Linked DNA regions of Homo sapiens: region 2 is linked to region 1. The links are contacts of gene promoters, found by promoter capture Hi-C in human tissues and cell types (Jung and others, 2019). All regions are on one chromosome and are shown on one strand. Each heading gives the region's core, a stretch centred on a gene start or on the middle of the fragment in contact. The rest is flanking DNA. Distances are from core to core; before and after follow the strand shown.

What was found. Contacts are between HindIII fragments. The study calls those that stand out against the background at their distance.
Region 2: a fragment that was not itself captured here is called in contact with the fragment with the promoter of TTPAL in region 1 in 2 of the 25 tissues and cell types used here (adrenal gland and bladder).

The regions. Positions count from the first base shown.
Region 1 is chr20:44,473,792-44,477,190 of GRCh38, reverse strand. It overlaps TTPAL (alpha tocopherol transfer protein like), which reads right to left and starts at 1,317. Exons shown (of 5, transcript NM_001039199.3): 1 at 1,200-1,317. RefSeq lists a silencer at 1,212-1,341 and an enhancer at 1,432-1,521. The HindIII fragment of the contact is 17,873 bases long and covers 1-3,399 here.
Region 2 is chr20:44,552,351-44,556,175 of GRCh38, reverse strand. It overlaps a transcript of PKIG not described here. Among named protein-coding and RNA genes, the nearest start is that of PKIG, 28 kb to the left of the region's middle. The HindIII fragment of the contact is 3,026 bases long and covers 979-3,825 here.

The DNA of each region.
Region 1 (3,399 bases), core at 68-2,567:
TCAAAGCCCCTCTCCAGCCTCATTTTCCATCGCACCCCACCTTGATGCACATTAAATGCCAGTCAAAACAAACTAATAACCCATCATCCTTGGAATAACTCGTGCACTTCTGATACACTCTGCCTGGAATTTCCTCTTCTAATTTGTTCCTAACTTGACAGCTCAGGCTCAGCTGCCATGTCACCACCTCAGTGAATCCTTCCCAAACTCCCTGAGGGTGATTCCCTCCAGTTTTCCACAGAACTGGGTTCCTATTTCTTTTTTAGAAATTACAGTCCAATGCTATGGGCATTTATCTAGAGTCAGTTTCACCACGCACTCATTTATCAAATAATTACCGATCACCTACCATATATGTCAGGCACTGTGCTCACAGGCACTGGGAACACAGACGCAAACAATACAATTCCTTGCCTAATAAAGCTTACATTATAGTGGAATGAAGAGAATGCATACTTGAGCATTTTACCATGTATCAAGCATTGCTAAGCCCTTTACCCATTTCCTCATTTAATCTTCACGTTATTTGGTGAGAGCGCTATTACTGTTGCCATTTTACAAAGGAGGACAAAAAGGACTGTCCCCTAGAATCTAAGTTCCACGAGGGCAGAGGGCTTGTCTGCCATGTCCACTGCCACCCCCAGTGCCGGGCACATGGCAGTGGTCTGTACACATCAGCGGAGGATATAGGTTAAGCGATTCGCCCAAGGGGGCACACCCGGTGAGGCAGAGCAAGGATGCGTCTAGCCCCACCCTGGGCTTCTAATCTGTACCCTCCACCTGGAGCTTCATGTTGACTCTCCAGGGACTCAGCAGTGCCGAGCGCTCAGCAGGACTCAGTCACAGGCTGGTGAATGAGCTGACAGGCGGACATATGAGTGAGATGCAGACACCATTGGTAACGGTGAAGCCAAAGATCTCCCCCACCTGGAGCCCATCCTTTCTGGAGCATCACTTTCCTTTCCACCCCTTCCTCTCAACAAGGAGAGGTCAGGAAGCCATCTCTCCTAGAGCCCCCGAGACCCCATATCCCGTGGACAACCTTCCGAGGCCCCCACTTCCGGCTGTCACCCCCTCCCCAGGTGTCCCCATTTCCTGGGGTCTCTCGCTCCTCTGGTCCCCACTTCCGGTTATCCTTCCCTCTCAGGGGTCCCTCTCCTCAGCTCCCAGGGCACACGGATGGGCTCGCGGGCACTCACCGGCCCGACTACGGGCGGAGCGCGGGTCAATCGGCGGCGGGAGCCTCGTCCGGCAGCGCACGCAGAACCGACCCGCACTCCCTGCCCGGCCTGCCCGGCCTCTCGCGCCGGAAGTGACGATCCAGGGCGTGGGAGGCGGGGCTCCGCCTAGGAGCGCGCATGTGCGACGCCTCCCCGCGGCGTTGGTGTTCAGTCCCCACCTGGCTGCCGGAGCTCCGAGCTGCGGACCTGGAGTGGCTGGGAGGAGCTGGGGCACCAGCCGCTTGTCAAACCCGGCTTATAGATGGGGAAACTGAGGCTCAGAGAAGGAAGGAAAGAAGCTGCCATTTTCCAAGAACATGCTAACATGTACCTGTTGTTTAACATCCATGATCTCATTAACTCCTCATATTTATGCAATTCCCCTATTTCAGGAAAGGGAAACTGGCAATCAAGGCAGTAAAGGGCTTCAAACCCGGACCTCAGGATTAGCATTCTAGACTTCCCCCCACTATGGCTGCTATCAGGACTAGCTGCTCCAAAAAGGGAGACTCCAAACCAGGGGACATCTGTCTGTCATTAACTGAGTGACCTGGAGCAAGTCCCCATTCCTTCTTGTGCTTCCGTTTCCTTACCTGAAACCTGATTCTTGCTCTGGAGCCTGATTCAATAATTACTTTTTTCCTGCTTTGGGGTTCATTACGTTCCCTCCAGACAAAGGCTTTACTAACTCCCACCCCAGTCCATTAAGATCCGCCCGCAAGTATTTTGTGCAACTGCAACTTTGAGGCAAATCTCCTAGGTCCCTCTGAGGCAGAACCTCTGGTGGTCCAGGAGAACTCTGAGCCTAAAGAAACGACCTTAAACAGTCTTTTCATTTTCCTACCCCAGGGGCAAGAGGAGTCCCAAGAAGATGGGAAGTGACCCATGAGGGCCACAAGAACGTGGCAGTTTCTGCCAGATTGAGGGGCAGGGGGCAGCAGTATGGAGGCGACCTGGGAATCATGAGTTTTGACTCCTGCTCTCAGTTTCATCACTTCTAAGATTGACAGACAAAATATATAACATTCACTACAGTTTGAATTTCAGATAAACATTTAAGCATGTTCCTTTCCAAACACACACACACATACACACAGATAAGTGTGTCCTATGCAACATTTGGGACACATTTATACTTTAAAAATTGTTGTTTATAGGAAATTCAAATATGACTACTGGGCATCCTGGATTTTGTTTTGTTTGCTAAATCTATGTATTATTTTCCTGTTACTGTTACAAGGAATTACTGCAAACTTCATGGATTGAAACAACACAGATATATTCTCTTGCAGTTCTCTAGGTCAAAAGTCTAAAATCAAGGTGTTGGCAAGGCTGCATTCTTTTGGGGATTTGGAGGAAGCATCAGTTCCTTTCCTTTTACAGTTTGTAGAGGCCACCTGCATTCCTTAGCTTATGGCCCCTTCTTCAAATCACCTCAACCTCTGGCTTCTGTTGTCACCTCTACTACTGACTGATCCTCCTGCTTCCCTCTTCTTATAAGGACTCTTGGGATTACATTGGGCTCAGCCAGATAATCCAGGATAATCTTACCATCTCAAGATCCTTACATTAATCACATCTGTGAGATCTTTTAAAACGTAAGGTAAGGCCGGGTGCAGTGGCTCACGCCTGGAATCCCAGCACTTTGGGAGGCTGAAGCAGGTGGATCACTTGAGATCAGGAGTATGATGAGACCACCCCAGCCAACATGGTGAAACCCTGTCTCTACTAAAAATACAAAAATTAGTTGGGCGTGGTGGCACACGCCTGTAATCCGAGGCCCCCACTTCCGGCTGTCACACCCAACTATGCGGGAGCCTGAGGCAGGAGAATCACTTGAACCCAGGAGGCAGAGGTTGCAGTGAGCCGAGATCATGCCACTGCCCTCCAGCCTGGGCGACAGAGCGAGACTCTGTCTCAAAAAGAAAACCCCCCAAAACAGCCGGATGTGGTGGCTCATGCCTATAATCTCAGCACTTTGAGAAGCCAAGGCAGGTGGATCACCTGAGTTCAGGAGTTCGAGACCAGCCTGGCCAACCTGGTGAAACCCTGTCTCTACTAAAAATACAAAAATTAGCCAGGCCTGTAATCCCAGCCACCTGGGAGGCTGCCTGGGCTCAAGCCATTCTCCTGCGCCCTGCCAAATGGCAGCTCTTGTGGCAAAGGGTGAGGGATGACC
Region 2 (3,825 bases), core at 1,242-3,741, 78 kb before region 1:
GTAATAAAGCAGCAATAAACTTTAAATTAGGTCTCTAGGCTGGGTGTGGTGGCTCATGCCTGTAATCCCAGCACTTTGGGAGGCCAAGGCGGGTGAATCATGAGTTCAGGAGATCGAGACCATCCTGGCTAACAGGGTGAAACCCTGCCTCTACTAAAAATACAAAAATTAGCCAGGCATGGTGGCACGCACCTGTAGTCCCAGCTACTTGGGAGGCTGAGGCAGGAGAATCGCCTGAACCTGGGAGGCAGAAGTTGCCGTGAGCAGAGATCACGCCATTGCACTATTCCAGCCTGGGTGACACAGCGAGACTCCGTCTCAAAAAAATAAAATAAAATAAAATAAATAAAGTAGGTCTCTAATATTCCTCCCAACTCTTGGGTTTTATGACCTTATCACACAAGTATTTTCTTGTTAAAAAAAATGAGGTTCCCTAGCAAGTGGACAAAAAATAAATATACATATATGTGGAACAATAAAATAATCTATACACATATACACACACAAAATGAGTGGGAGTACTAAGATGAAAGAAATATTTTCAGAGTATGAACAGGATGCTTTTCAGATGAAATCCTCAAGTATCAACAAAGAACTGTGGGTGAGCTTAAATCATGTGGGCCTAAACTACTCTGTAACTTATCTAAAGCCAACAGGATGGTATCTCTGAATTTAGACACAGAAAGATACATGGTAGTTTGGATATTTAGAAGGATTTAGTTTAAAGCCAATGTTTACAAGAATATTTATAAACTTACATAAAACCTATAGAATTTGGCAAGCTTTGGAGAGACAAACAAACAATTCTGGTCAGAAATGAACTTCCTGTAAATAGATGTCAGTGTTTTGACAGTACACTGTTAAGCACTATTCCTTATAGTTTTTGTAAAAGGAATAAAACAAAGGTAGAGAATACACACATCTCTCAATACATTTTCATGTTTGTTTACTTGTTTGTTTTCAATTGAAATTAAAACATTTCTTAATTTCTAATACTGACGATAATTCTATCGATAGTATCTTTTCTTTTTTCTTTAAGAATAACATCAACAAAAATAATAATGACAACATCAACAAAAATAGCACAGTAACATGTTAAATGATTTCTGGCAGTCTGTCAAAAATACAGATATTAAAACAGATATTAAAATAGGACACTTAAATGATATTAAGCTTCAACAAATCTGTAAAACCCAAAACCGTAACAATTTTTAATACCCTACTCTCAGAAAAGAAAAAATGTCACATTACTATAGAACAAAAGTAAATCAATAAGATGATTATTTTCCTGTATCTTATCGAGTTGGGGGAAATCCTGTCTCTGTAGGTGCCCCCACGCCCCCTGCCCTTTTCAGAAGACTTTCTTCAAACTGCAGGTAGCCTGGAAGTCTTCCCAGAAAATCTTTGAAAAAACACAGTCTGTTGTCTTCTGCATAGACACTTTGGATCTTACAAAGCACTTAGAGGTTTGTCCTCTGCTAAAAACAAGTTAGGAAAACCAAGAATCTGTTTTTTGCCCCCAAGCTGGAAGCTCCTGCCCACCAGCAAACTACTGCCTATTCCAGCTCTGTCCCCACTGGTACTTGCCACCCCCTCACCCCCTCACCCTTGTCCCAGTTCTTAGCTAGCAATTAGCATCAAGTCTGGACCCTGCTCAAAAACCCATCCTTCCCCTTGCTCTGACTACCAAGTTAAAAGTTCCTACTCAAAATGGGGTGTTGGTTACATAGGTATATGCATTTGTCATGAGCATTTCACTATATGTTAAATTTATCTGGATTAAAAAATTTTTTAGGCCTTGCACAGTGGCTCACACTTATAATCCTAGCACTTTGGGAGGCTGAGGTGGGTGAATCACTTGAGGCCGGAGTTCGAGACCAGCCTGACCAACATGGTGAAACCCTGTCTCTACTAAAAATACAAAAAAAAAATTAGCCAGGCATGGTGGTGTGTGCCTGTAATCCCAGGTACTGGGAAGGCTGAGGCACGAGAATTGCTTGAGCCTGCGAGGCAGAGGTTGCAGTGAACTGAGATTGAGATCATATCACAGCACTCCAGCCTGGGCGACAGAGCAAGATTCTGTCTCAAAAAAAAAAAAATTTTTTTTTAAATTAATAAACTGGTCTACAATGCTCTGCTGTCACTGTTAGCTTCTCTGAATTTATTTTGTGCCAAACTTCCCTCTCACTGTCCTTTGGTCACTTTTTTCAGCTTCTCCAAGGGCAAGCTCTTCTCTCGACCCCAAGACTCATAGCTCATTTCAGCATGTAATACTCTTCAGCCAACCCCACATTCCCCTAACTAACCCTTTTCTCCTAGTTAATGCCTACTCACCCCACCAGACTCAGCTTGGGTGCCTTTTCCTCCAAGGAGCCTTCCTTCCTCCCCTCACCCGTGTGCACAGGAACATGTTCACATATGCAGGCCAAGGCATCTCTCTGTTCCCTTAGCATTTACTATAAACGAGCATTAGAGTATAAGGTCCATGACAGCAGGCACTATGTTTTTATTAGTCACTGTCATAACCCTAGCACCAAGTATATCACAGATGATCAGTAAATGTTCATTTAATGAATGTTAAATGAAGGCACAAAGATATCAGTCATTCTGATCTATAAAGCTTCCTTCACCATTTTGCTGATCTAATGTGCTGTCTGGCCTCTCTGTTATCTGAAATCCATCTGTGAAGCTACCACAGCTCTGACTCTAATACTGCTTGGGTTTCCTATCTCAGAAGAGCAAACTTTCCAGGTTCAACTTAAGGCAACCATTTTCAAAGAGCAAAATGTGTTTACTCTTAACATGTACACTTCAGGCACTTGTCTAACCTCTCAGCCAACAGAAGTGGTTTGTCTAGACAAGGGTTTATGTGAGATATTCACTACATGGCGTTGGTCATACTGGCACTCCGAGGCAGCATAAACTTTAGCCTTTCCTGGGATGGAATTAATGACCTGATACCTTCAAGCTTTCAACTTTGGAAAATCACAAAAAAGTAAGTCAACTGATTCCCTAAAAATTCTCTCTCTTGCAAGGTTGTTATGAGGCGGTGGGAAGAAAAATGAGAAAGATGAGTCAGTGTGAGTCAGTGTTAAGAAAAAAGCTCTGCTTCTGGTAAACAGTTTGCTCTTTTACTGACAGGACTAGGATTACCCGACTCCCACTTCTAAAAATACACAAATAACAGGTGGTATACATTATATAAGTGGTTCCAAAACACAGACTCAGATCATTGACTCTAAAAAGGGAACAGTTAATCAGCAATGAGCCAGACCTTCCCCAGAGCCTGCTTCTCGGAGAAGCCCCCAGACTAAGTAAGCATTTCCCTAAAGACAATTAAGATCCTAAATGCTTCCACTGCCCACTCAAGTGACCTAAAGGAATGACTGAACCTCCCTTACAATAACAACTACTTCATGAGCACCTACTACGTGCCAATAACTCTGCTAGGCTTCATACAATTCATCTTTAAACTTTACAACAATCCTGTAAGATGGTTGTTATTATCCATGTTTTACAGATAAGGAACCTGGCGCACAGGGGTTGGGTTAGATTTATATACAGTTGCATAGTGGCAGCACCAGATTTGATTCAAAAGTGCCTGCTTGTCTCCTTTCATTCCAAACTGAATTCAGAAATATATATGAATTACCCTGAGCAAGGCAATGCATCAGGTACTGCAGGGGATACAAGCTAGAAAAGGCTACTCCAATTATCAAGAAAGCAAAATTGGAAGTAAATGAGACTATGTAGGAGAGCTTCATCTCTCTATTTCCAAGATCCCAAACAAGGCCCGCCACACATAAGTTGCCCAGGAAATTACTA